Regions from separate parts of the Homo sapiens genome. Here regions 1 and 2 are each linked to region 3. The links are contacts of gene promoters, found by promoter capture Hi-C in blood cells and fetal thymus (Javierre and others, 2016). All regions are on one chromosome and are shown on one strand. Each heading gives the region's core, a stretch centred on a gene start or on the middle of the fragment in contact. The rest is flanking DNA. Distances are from core to core; before and after follow the strand shown. Region 1 overlaps LOC101929727 (a long non-coding RNA gene). Region 2 overlaps LOC101929727 (a long non-coding RNA gene). Region 3 holds the start of KLLN (killin, p53 regulated DNA replication inhibitor).

Region 1 (2,700 bases), core at 142-2,641, 290 kb after region 3:
CTTGAGCCTGGGAGGTTGAGACTGCAGTGAGCCATAATCGCGACATTGCACTCCAGCATGGGCAACAGAGCGAGATGCTGTCTCAAACAAACAAAAACAAACAACAAAAAAGACAAAGAAGAAACTGAAAATTAGAAGGACAAAGAGACGTATCTAGGATCCTGAAGTGGATTAATGGATTCTTGACTCAGGCACAATGCAGTGCTTGTTGTAGTATAGGATATATCATCCCTTTTGGGACTTGAAAATTTACTCTTCACATATTTTTAAATTCTATATCTTGCCCTCTCAATTACAGTATTAGTTATTTAAGGATAGAGAGTATGTTTTCTACTTAAAAATGTTTCCAATATTATGTAAAAAGTAGAAACTAAGTGTTAAAGGCAAGCAAGCAAGCTAGTTGGCAGAGAGGGAGTGCAAATGTTTACATGGTGGAGATGCTGGTAGTCCCTGGCACATAGTAATCTTTCAGTAAGTACTTTTCAAGTGAACGAATGGATGAATGAAATGGTGTTAGGAAGACTAGAGTTGAATTTGAACTGGGGGGCGGGTATTTCCAAGAATACAGATGAAGTTTTGCAACAAAGGAAGTAGATCCAGCTTTGGATGCTGCTGACAAACTAGTCTTTAAAGAAAATTACAGCACGTGTGTATAAAGAGGTGAGTCACTGGAGAAGAGTTATTGAACCTGACAGACATTGTGAAGAGAACAGCAATGGTCTCTGACTGTTCAGCAAGAACGCTGAACATCTGCTCAGCATCATCAAGACCGTCTTCTGCCTACTAACTGGTGGGATGTGCCTCTGTGCCAAACGATGGCCTCTCATGTTGGGCATCATTCATCTAAGGGCTCTGAAAGCTGTGATTATTGCAGTGGGTGAAGAGACAGGTGTTTCAGGCATGCTAGTGTAAAATATTATCTAGATCAGTGCTTTTCAAGCTTTAATGAGCATATGAATCATTTGGGCATCTTGTTAAAAGGCTGCTTCTACTGTAATAGGTCTTGGGTGGAGCCTAAGATTTTCTATTTCTCACACACTACAAGGTGTGATGAGAATGATGCTGATGCTGCTGTTCTGAGCAACCATACTTTGAGTAATAAGGTTCTAGCTGATCTATGGAAAAGTACTAGGGAATGTGACAATTAGAAGTAGTTCTATGTTGTCCTTTCAGCTTTGTCCTCTGATCAGGAATCTCCACTCTGTGGGCCAACTCTCCAACAACAGGCTGGCAATCCAATTGGTTGGTTATGCTGCTTCTATAGGGACTGATTGGATTTGGGGGTCATGAAGTTATTAAGGGAAAAAAATCAAGGAAGCATTAAAACTCATACTTCCTAGAGTGTTACACCTAAAGATCTGCACAAGGACTCATTTGCTTATGAATCACTTAGAAATTCATGTTTACTCCTAGGGCCCAGCACAGAGTAGGCCATCCAAAAATGCCAAATGAATGAAGAAAGGATAAAGAAGGAGGCTTCAATCAAAGCAGCTAGAGTCATACCACATCTCACTATTAATTTCACTTACAAGATGAAGAACTAAGCCAAAAAATCACCTATGTAAACAAAAATAGATGTCTCAAAGGCCATACATTAACTCTTAGGCATATTACTTCTGGAGAAGTTCTAAGTCAACTCAGAGCCTATTTGGGCTTTTATATTTTTAAATAAAAGAGTGAAATAGTTTATTATCATATAAACAGAGTGATGTGATTTCTCACCTTTTGTAAGATTTTATAGTTTGCAATGCACTTTAAAATAGCTTTATTGAGATATAATTCATATATCATAAAATTCACCCTTTTAAAGTGTTATTTGTACCTATTTTACAACCTATTTTATAAAGCTTGGCTGTCTATAGTAGAAGGGAAGAGGCAAGTTAGAGGGGTTTGGAGAGAACAAGAGATAGATATAGGCAGGCAAGGGCAAAAGAATAAAAGACAAGACAAAAAATATTAAATGAAGCACAGAGAAGTACTAAGAAAGCTCAGGCAGTAATCTGGAAATATTTAGTTTAGTGGAAACCTCTTTCCAACATGCTTCAAAATATCCCAAGAAGATGAGTGTATACAACCCAGTATAATAATGGATGTTCATGATGGTGCCCTTCTAGCTAATTCTAGTTGTTACATTCCCTAGTACTTTTCCATAGATCATCTAGAACCTTGTTACTCAAAATATGGTTGCTCAGAACAGCAGCATCAGCATCATTCATGATGGTCAGTTGTCAAGGAAAGGATAAGTTATACTCCACCTACTCGGCTTAAAAAGCCAAGGAAGTCTGTGACCCATTAAGACATTTTCATTACAAAGGTAATGGTGATATTTTGTCAAGTGTTGGGTGCTTTAAAAAGTAAGTCCTCAACTCTCTCCACAATGAGTCAGTTCATGGGGATTCCAGAAAGTTGATGTTTTATGGTATGGGCTGAGATATGTGACCAGAGGTCAGCCACATGCACACAGCTCTGCTGACTCAAGGGTGGAGGTCCTCACCAAGCACTGCCATGTGCATGAGTGAGGGCATCTGGGCTTTCAAGGCACATCTTTCTCCCAGGGACAACACCCTTCCTTCTTTTTTTGGACCCTGCTGTCTCCTGAGATCCTCCTGAGCATAATTTAACCCTTGCTGGGTGAGAATCAGAATGGTCCAGCAAGCGCTGGATTTTCTGTCAGAGTTTCCTTCGGTTTAAAAATCTGAA
Region 2 (2,700 bases), core at 87-2,586, 330 kb after region 3:
CATGACAGGATGTTTAGCAGCAACGCTGTCTCCACCCACCAGATGCAAGTAGCGTTCCTCACTGTCCCCCCTCATGCTGAGATTGTGATAGCCAAAAATGTCTCCAGATACTGTTAAATGTAGAGAGCAAAATTGCTCCTGGTTCAAAAGCACTGGTCTAGAGGTCTCCCATATTTTCCTCTGAGTCCTGGGACAAAGTGGCTCAAGCCTCCTTCTCTGATGACTCAGGTGATATCTCTCTCATCTTGGGCCAATCACAAATGAATATAGCCAGGGAGAGGCAAGTGCTTTCTGAAAAGCAAGAATAGGTCATGCTTTGTCATTCACTGGTAGAGTCAGAAGTAAGCCATAATACAAATGACTAAGAGTCAACCAAAGACAATCAGAAAGGTAATTAGACCAGTGATGTTCAAAGTCTTGTTTGTAAACCACATCTTCTGGAGAAATGATTAAAAATGGAAATTTTGCGGGTTATTATCTAGGTCTACTGTATTGAAATCTGGATTTTTAACAAACTCCCAAGGGGATTCTTATGCATCCAAGAGTATGAGAACCACTGTATTCAATAGCAATGCTTATTTACTTATCTTCAAAAATTGTTTATTTTGAAATAACCAGGGGCAGAATACTAAATAGTACAAAAAGAGGAACTAGGCTTTCATATAATAAAAAGTACTGTATCTTAACTTTGTTTTCTTTTTTAGCTTAAGTGCTTCCTAAAGACTAACACAATCCATATGTTCATGGAAAACAAAAATCCCCACCAGAATATGAGGTTGGTCAGGCATACTCGAGTGAGTCTGTCAAGCCCTAAGACCTGGTGGGTGTTGGATCCAAATTCCCTCTTCAACACAGTGTAAGCATCCAATGCATTCATCATCCCCTTTTCAAAATGCTTGGTCTGTGCGTCTTCTTTTTCCTGACCCTGAATGAGATATTTTTGAGACTTAAAAGGAAAAGTAAAAAGGAAAGCCAGCTTAGATAAGGTGCTCTTTGGCAAAAGAATAGGATAAAATGCATTGTAATTGCTTCTAAATTAGTTACCTTATCTGATTTGGGTCTGTCTTTTTATAAGCAAAGCTCAAAACACTTAACCCCTAGTTGTCCAGTTGTAGTGCAACTAAAGCCACTAAAGCTCTGAACCTAGTGAGTGGATAGACAATACTGCTTTTTGTGCAGAGAACATAATTTCACACCCCCCTCCTTTGCTACCCTCCATTGCCTGGCAACAATGCTGGGCACACCATGGGAGATCTGTAACTACTTGCTGAATGGAAGGAAGGGCTGAACAACCCTGTAGACCCTGTAGTTTGGGGTAAGAAGACATCTGGATGCTGACCTGTACACCAAGCTACATGAAGAATTTCCCCATAGTTCATTAGAGAGTGGGAGCAAGAGGGTACCCAGATGCCACACAGACCCCAAGAAAGAGCTCATCAAGTTTCCTTGCCTCTTGGGAACTGAAATAGTTAGCACTGTGGAGCTTGCCTAAATAGAATAGAAAAGAAAATGATACCAGGGAGATTTCTGCTGAAAAGACAGACCTATCCAGTTTTTCATTGGAACCATCTCCCTGATTCAAAAACAGCCCCATCATTAGAACTGCTGGACCAACTCAACAAAATGTAAATACAGCTCTATCCAGTAATGTGACATTGCTAGAGGCATTCCCTGGCTTTCTGTAATAAAATATGACCTGAGTCCTTTCCAATTTATGTTTCTAGGGTCTTTTGTCTTTTTGTTTAATTAGGATACTTGTTCCTATTTGTCATGCAGTTAGGATGGCGTCTGTGTTTACAGATTACAGAGGTGTAGATAAAATGGGGACTCTGAGACCCAAGTGCAAAGGTTTGCATTTTTCACAGAAATTTTCCAAATGCTACTTTTATAGATGGTTGAAATTTGAGACTTGAGGGATCTCTCTTTTTAGTCAGGCTTGCCTAATATTTTGGCATCCTACAATTTCGTATACTTTGTAAGGAAAAAGAAGGGGAAAGTGGGAGGGTGGGAGGGTTTGTCTTTAATTGTCTTCTTTGTTAGAGAAATGAGATGTGGTGTTTTATTCATAGGCAAAGCCCTTTCTGGCAAATCGTTTGAAAGTCAGTGGGATTGTATAGATCCTCTCTATCTATTCTATTCCCTCTACATTAGCCATTCCTTTCCAAATCAGAAAATGTCTTTGGTAGATGGAATTATTGACCTCATGCTTCAGCTGTTTTTGGGTCCACACCCTTTGCCATGTGATATTGCAGTCCCTCCCACAAAAGGCAGAGTCAATTTTTCCACTGGCTGTGACTTGCTTTGGTCAATGCAGTGTGGATGGCTGTGACCATGTACCAGTTCTGCACTTGGACTATAAGAGGCATCATTTCTCTCTCAGTTATCTGCTTCCCCTCAGCTTGAAGCCTAGAGGAATACATAAAGAACCCATAGCATGGGGCTAGGTGTAGCCAGACTTATAGCTTGAGGTAGAGCCACCTAGCTGAGCCCAGTTTAGACGAGACAATGCCCGGGTGACCTGCAGACCCGTGGGCAAGAATAAGTGGTTATTGTTTTAATTAATCCACTGAAGTATTACTTGTTACTCAGTAATAGCCAATTGATAAAATACCCTCAATCCCCTCATCTCTCCAGTTTATATATTAATTCTCAGCCCAATATGTTTTGGGGCAAATGGAGAATTTTTCTAGCCCTTTCCAA
Region 3 (2,700 bases), core at 24-2,523:
GAATTTGGAAAGTTCCCCAACTAGGGACACACGTGACCTCCTTCGGAAAGTAGTTCCGACTGTGGCCCGTGTATCCTTCCACCTCCTTTTGAACCCTCCTAGGTCTCCTCGCCCCGCCCACTCGCTGGGCTGCAGCTTCCTACCGTTCCGTACTTTCCACTCAACCCGGTAACCCCAAACGTGCACGGTCCGGCCGGGGCGCGCGGAGCCTGGCCCCGGGCGATCCATCCTGCCGGGTTTTCACGGCGGCCAAGGGGGGGCGGGGCTAGGTGGTCTCTGAGAACCGAGCTTGACTCCGACGCCGCGAACCGACCTGGAGCCCGAGGGGAAAGATGCTCGACTCTCTTGGGGGCACCGGAGCGGGCGCAGGAGAGGCCTGCGGGGTGCGTCCCACTCACAGGGATCCTCTTTCAGTTCATTTAGATAGGTGCCCTTTGGGCCCTTGAAATTCAACGGCTATGTGTTCACGTTCAGCACGCTCGGCTGAGAGCTTTCATTTTTAGGGCAAACGAGCCGAGTTACCGGGGAAGCGAGAGGTGGGGCGCTGCAAGGGAGCCGGATGAGGTGATACACGCTGGCGACACAATAGCAGGTTGCTCTTTGTGCTAAGACTGACACCATGAGGACACAGATTTGGGGGAAGGGGGAATCTCTAGGCAAAGGCTGTTACAGTCAAATCTCTGCGAACGATTGTGATCCGACAGCGGTGCAAAAGGAAAGAGCGAATGCAGTCCACGCCGCGGAAATCTAGGGGTAGAGGCAAGGGGGGAGGGTATTCCCCTTGCAGGGACCGTCCCTGCATTTCCCTCTACACTGAGCAGCGTGGTCACCTGGTCCTTTTCACCTGTGCACAGGTAACCTCAGACTCGAGTCAGTGACACTGCTCAACGCACCCATCTCAGCTTTCATCATCAGTCCTCCACCCCCGCCCCACAACAGCCTACCCTGCCTCCGGCTGGGTTTCTGGGCAGAGGCCGAGGCTTAGCTCGTTATCCTCGCCTCGCGTTGCTGCAAAAGCCGCAGCAAGTGCAGCTGCAGGCTGGCGGCTGGGAACCGGCCCGAGCAAGCCCCAGGCAGCTACACTGGGCATGCTCAGTAGAGCCTGCGGCTTGGGGACTCTGCGCTCGCACCCAGAGCTACCGCTCTGCCCCCTCCTACCGCCCCCTGCCCTGCCCTGCCCTCCCCTCGCCCGGCGCGGTCCCGTCCGCCTCTCGCTCGCCTCCCGCCTCCCCTCGGTCTTCCGAGGCGCCCGGGCTCCCGGCGCGGCGGCGGAGGGGGCGGGCAGGCCGGCGGGCGGTGATGTGGCGGGACTCTTTATGCGCTGCGGCAGGATACGCGCTCGGCGCTGGGACGCGACTGCGCTCAGTTCTCTCCTCTCGGAAGCTGCAGCCATGATGGAAGTTTGAGAGTTGAGCCGCTGTGAGGCGAGGCCGGGCTCAGGCGAGGGAGATGAGAGACGGCGGCGGCCGCGGCCCGGAGCCCCTCTCAGCGCCTGTGAGCAGCCGCGGGGGCAGCGCCCTCGGGGAGCCGGCCGGCCTGCGGCGGCGGCAGCGGCGGCGTTTCTCGCCTCCTCTTCGTCTTTTCTAACCGTGCAGCCTCTTCCTCGGCTTCTCCTGAAAGGGAAGGTGGAAGCCGTGGGCTCGGGCGGGAGCCGGCTGAGGCGCGGCGGCGGCGGCGGCACCTCCCGCTCCTGGAGCGGGGGGGAGAAGCGGCGGCGGCGGCGGCCGCGGCGGCTGCAGCTCCAGGGAGGGGGTCTGAGTCGCCTGTCACCATTTCCAGGGCTGGGAACGCCGGAGAGTTGGTCTCTCCCCTTCTACTGCCTCCAACACGGCGGCGGCGGCGGCTGGCACATCCAGGGACCCGGGCCGGTTTTAAACCTCCCGTGCGCCGCCGCCGCACCCCCCGTGGCCCGGGCTCCGGAGGCCGCCGGCGGAGGCAGCCGTTCGGAGGATTATTCGTCTTCTCCCCATTCCGCTGCCGCCGCTGCCAGGCCTCTGGCTGCTGAGGAGAAGCAGGCCCAGTCGCTGCAACCATCCAGCAGCCGCCGCAGCAGCCATTACCCGGCTGCGGTCCAGAGCCAAGCGGCGGCAGAGCGAGGGGCATCAGCTACCGCCAAGTCCAGAGCCATTTCCATCCTGCAGAAGAAGCCCCGCCACCAGCAGCTTCTGCCATCTCTCTCCTCCTTTTTCTTCAGCCACAGGCTCCCAGACATGACAGCCATCATCAAAGAGATCGTTAGCAGAAACAAAAGGAGATATCAAGAGGATGGATTCGACTTAGACTTGACCTGTATCCATTTCTGCGGCTGCTCCTCTTTACCTTTCTGTCACTCTCTTAGAACGTGGGAGTAGACGGATGCGAAAATGTCCGTAGTTTGGGTGACTATAACATTTAACCCTGGTCAGGTTGCTAGGTCATATATTTTGTGTTTCCTTTCTGTGTATTCAACCTAGGGTGTGTTTGGCTAGACGGAACTCTTGCCTGGTTGCAAGTGTCAAGCCACCGATTGCTTTCTTAGGCTATCTATATGGTCTCTTCCTGAGGGCTATTGTCCGTTAATACAGAATACAGTACACTGTTAGTGGATTAGCGAGCTCGGTAATCCGGTCTCCTAAATGAACAAAAAAGTAGACGCTTTTTGAGGTTGAGCATATTTCGATTAAATCTTGGCTTAGGCCCTAGATCAAGGGTTTAGATCAG

The links. Contacts are between HindIII fragments. The CHiCAGO score rates a contact against its expected background, and 5 or more counts as called.
Region 1: a fragment that was not itself captured here is called in contact with the fragment with the promoter of KLLN in region 3 in 1 of 17 cell types (endothelial precursors); the score reaches 5.1 in endothelial precursors.
Region 2: a contact is called between a fragment that was not itself captured here and the fragment with the promoter of KLLN in region 3, in 4 of 17 cell types (naive CD8 T cells, non-activated CD4 T cells, naive CD4 T cells and 1 more). The highest score is 7.9, in naive CD8 T cells.

Annotation. Positions count from the first base shown.
Region 1 is chr10:88,154,105-88,156,804 of GRCh38, forward strand. All of the region lies in intron 1 of LOC101929727 (a long non-coding RNA gene), which reads left to right. Among named protein-coding and RNA genes, the nearest start is that of PTEN, 290 kb to the left of the region's middle. The HindIII fragment of the contact is 907 bases long and covers 939-1,845 here.
Region 2 is chr10:88,194,227-88,196,926 of GRCh38, forward strand. All of the region lies in intron 1 of LOC101929727 (a long non-coding RNA gene), which reads left to right. It also overlaps a transcript of RNLS not described here. Among named protein-coding and RNA genes, the nearest start is that of PTEN, 330 kb to the left of the region's middle. The HindIII fragment of the contact is 3,102 bases long and covers 1-2,700 here.
Region 3 is chr10:87,862,260-87,864,959 of GRCh38, forward strand. It overlaps KLLN (killin, p53 regulated DNA replication inhibitor), which reads right to left and starts at 1,274. Exons shown (of 1, transcript NM_001126049.2): 1 at 1-1,274. The coding sequence starts at 228. It overlaps MLDHR (mitochondrial lactate dehydrogenase regulator), which reads left to right and starts at 1,300. Exons shown (of 1, transcript NM_001433720.1): 1 at 1,300-1,395. The coding sequence starts at 1,300. The coding sequence ends at 1,395. PTEN (phosphatase and tensin homolog) reads left to right here and starts at 1,366. Exons shown (of 9, transcript NM_000314.8): 1 at 1,366-2,289. The coding sequence starts at 2,211. RefSeq lists enhancers at 1-90, 341-520 and silencers at 1,121-1,430, 1,521-1,660. The HindIII fragment of the contact is 7,182 bases long and covers 1-2,700 here.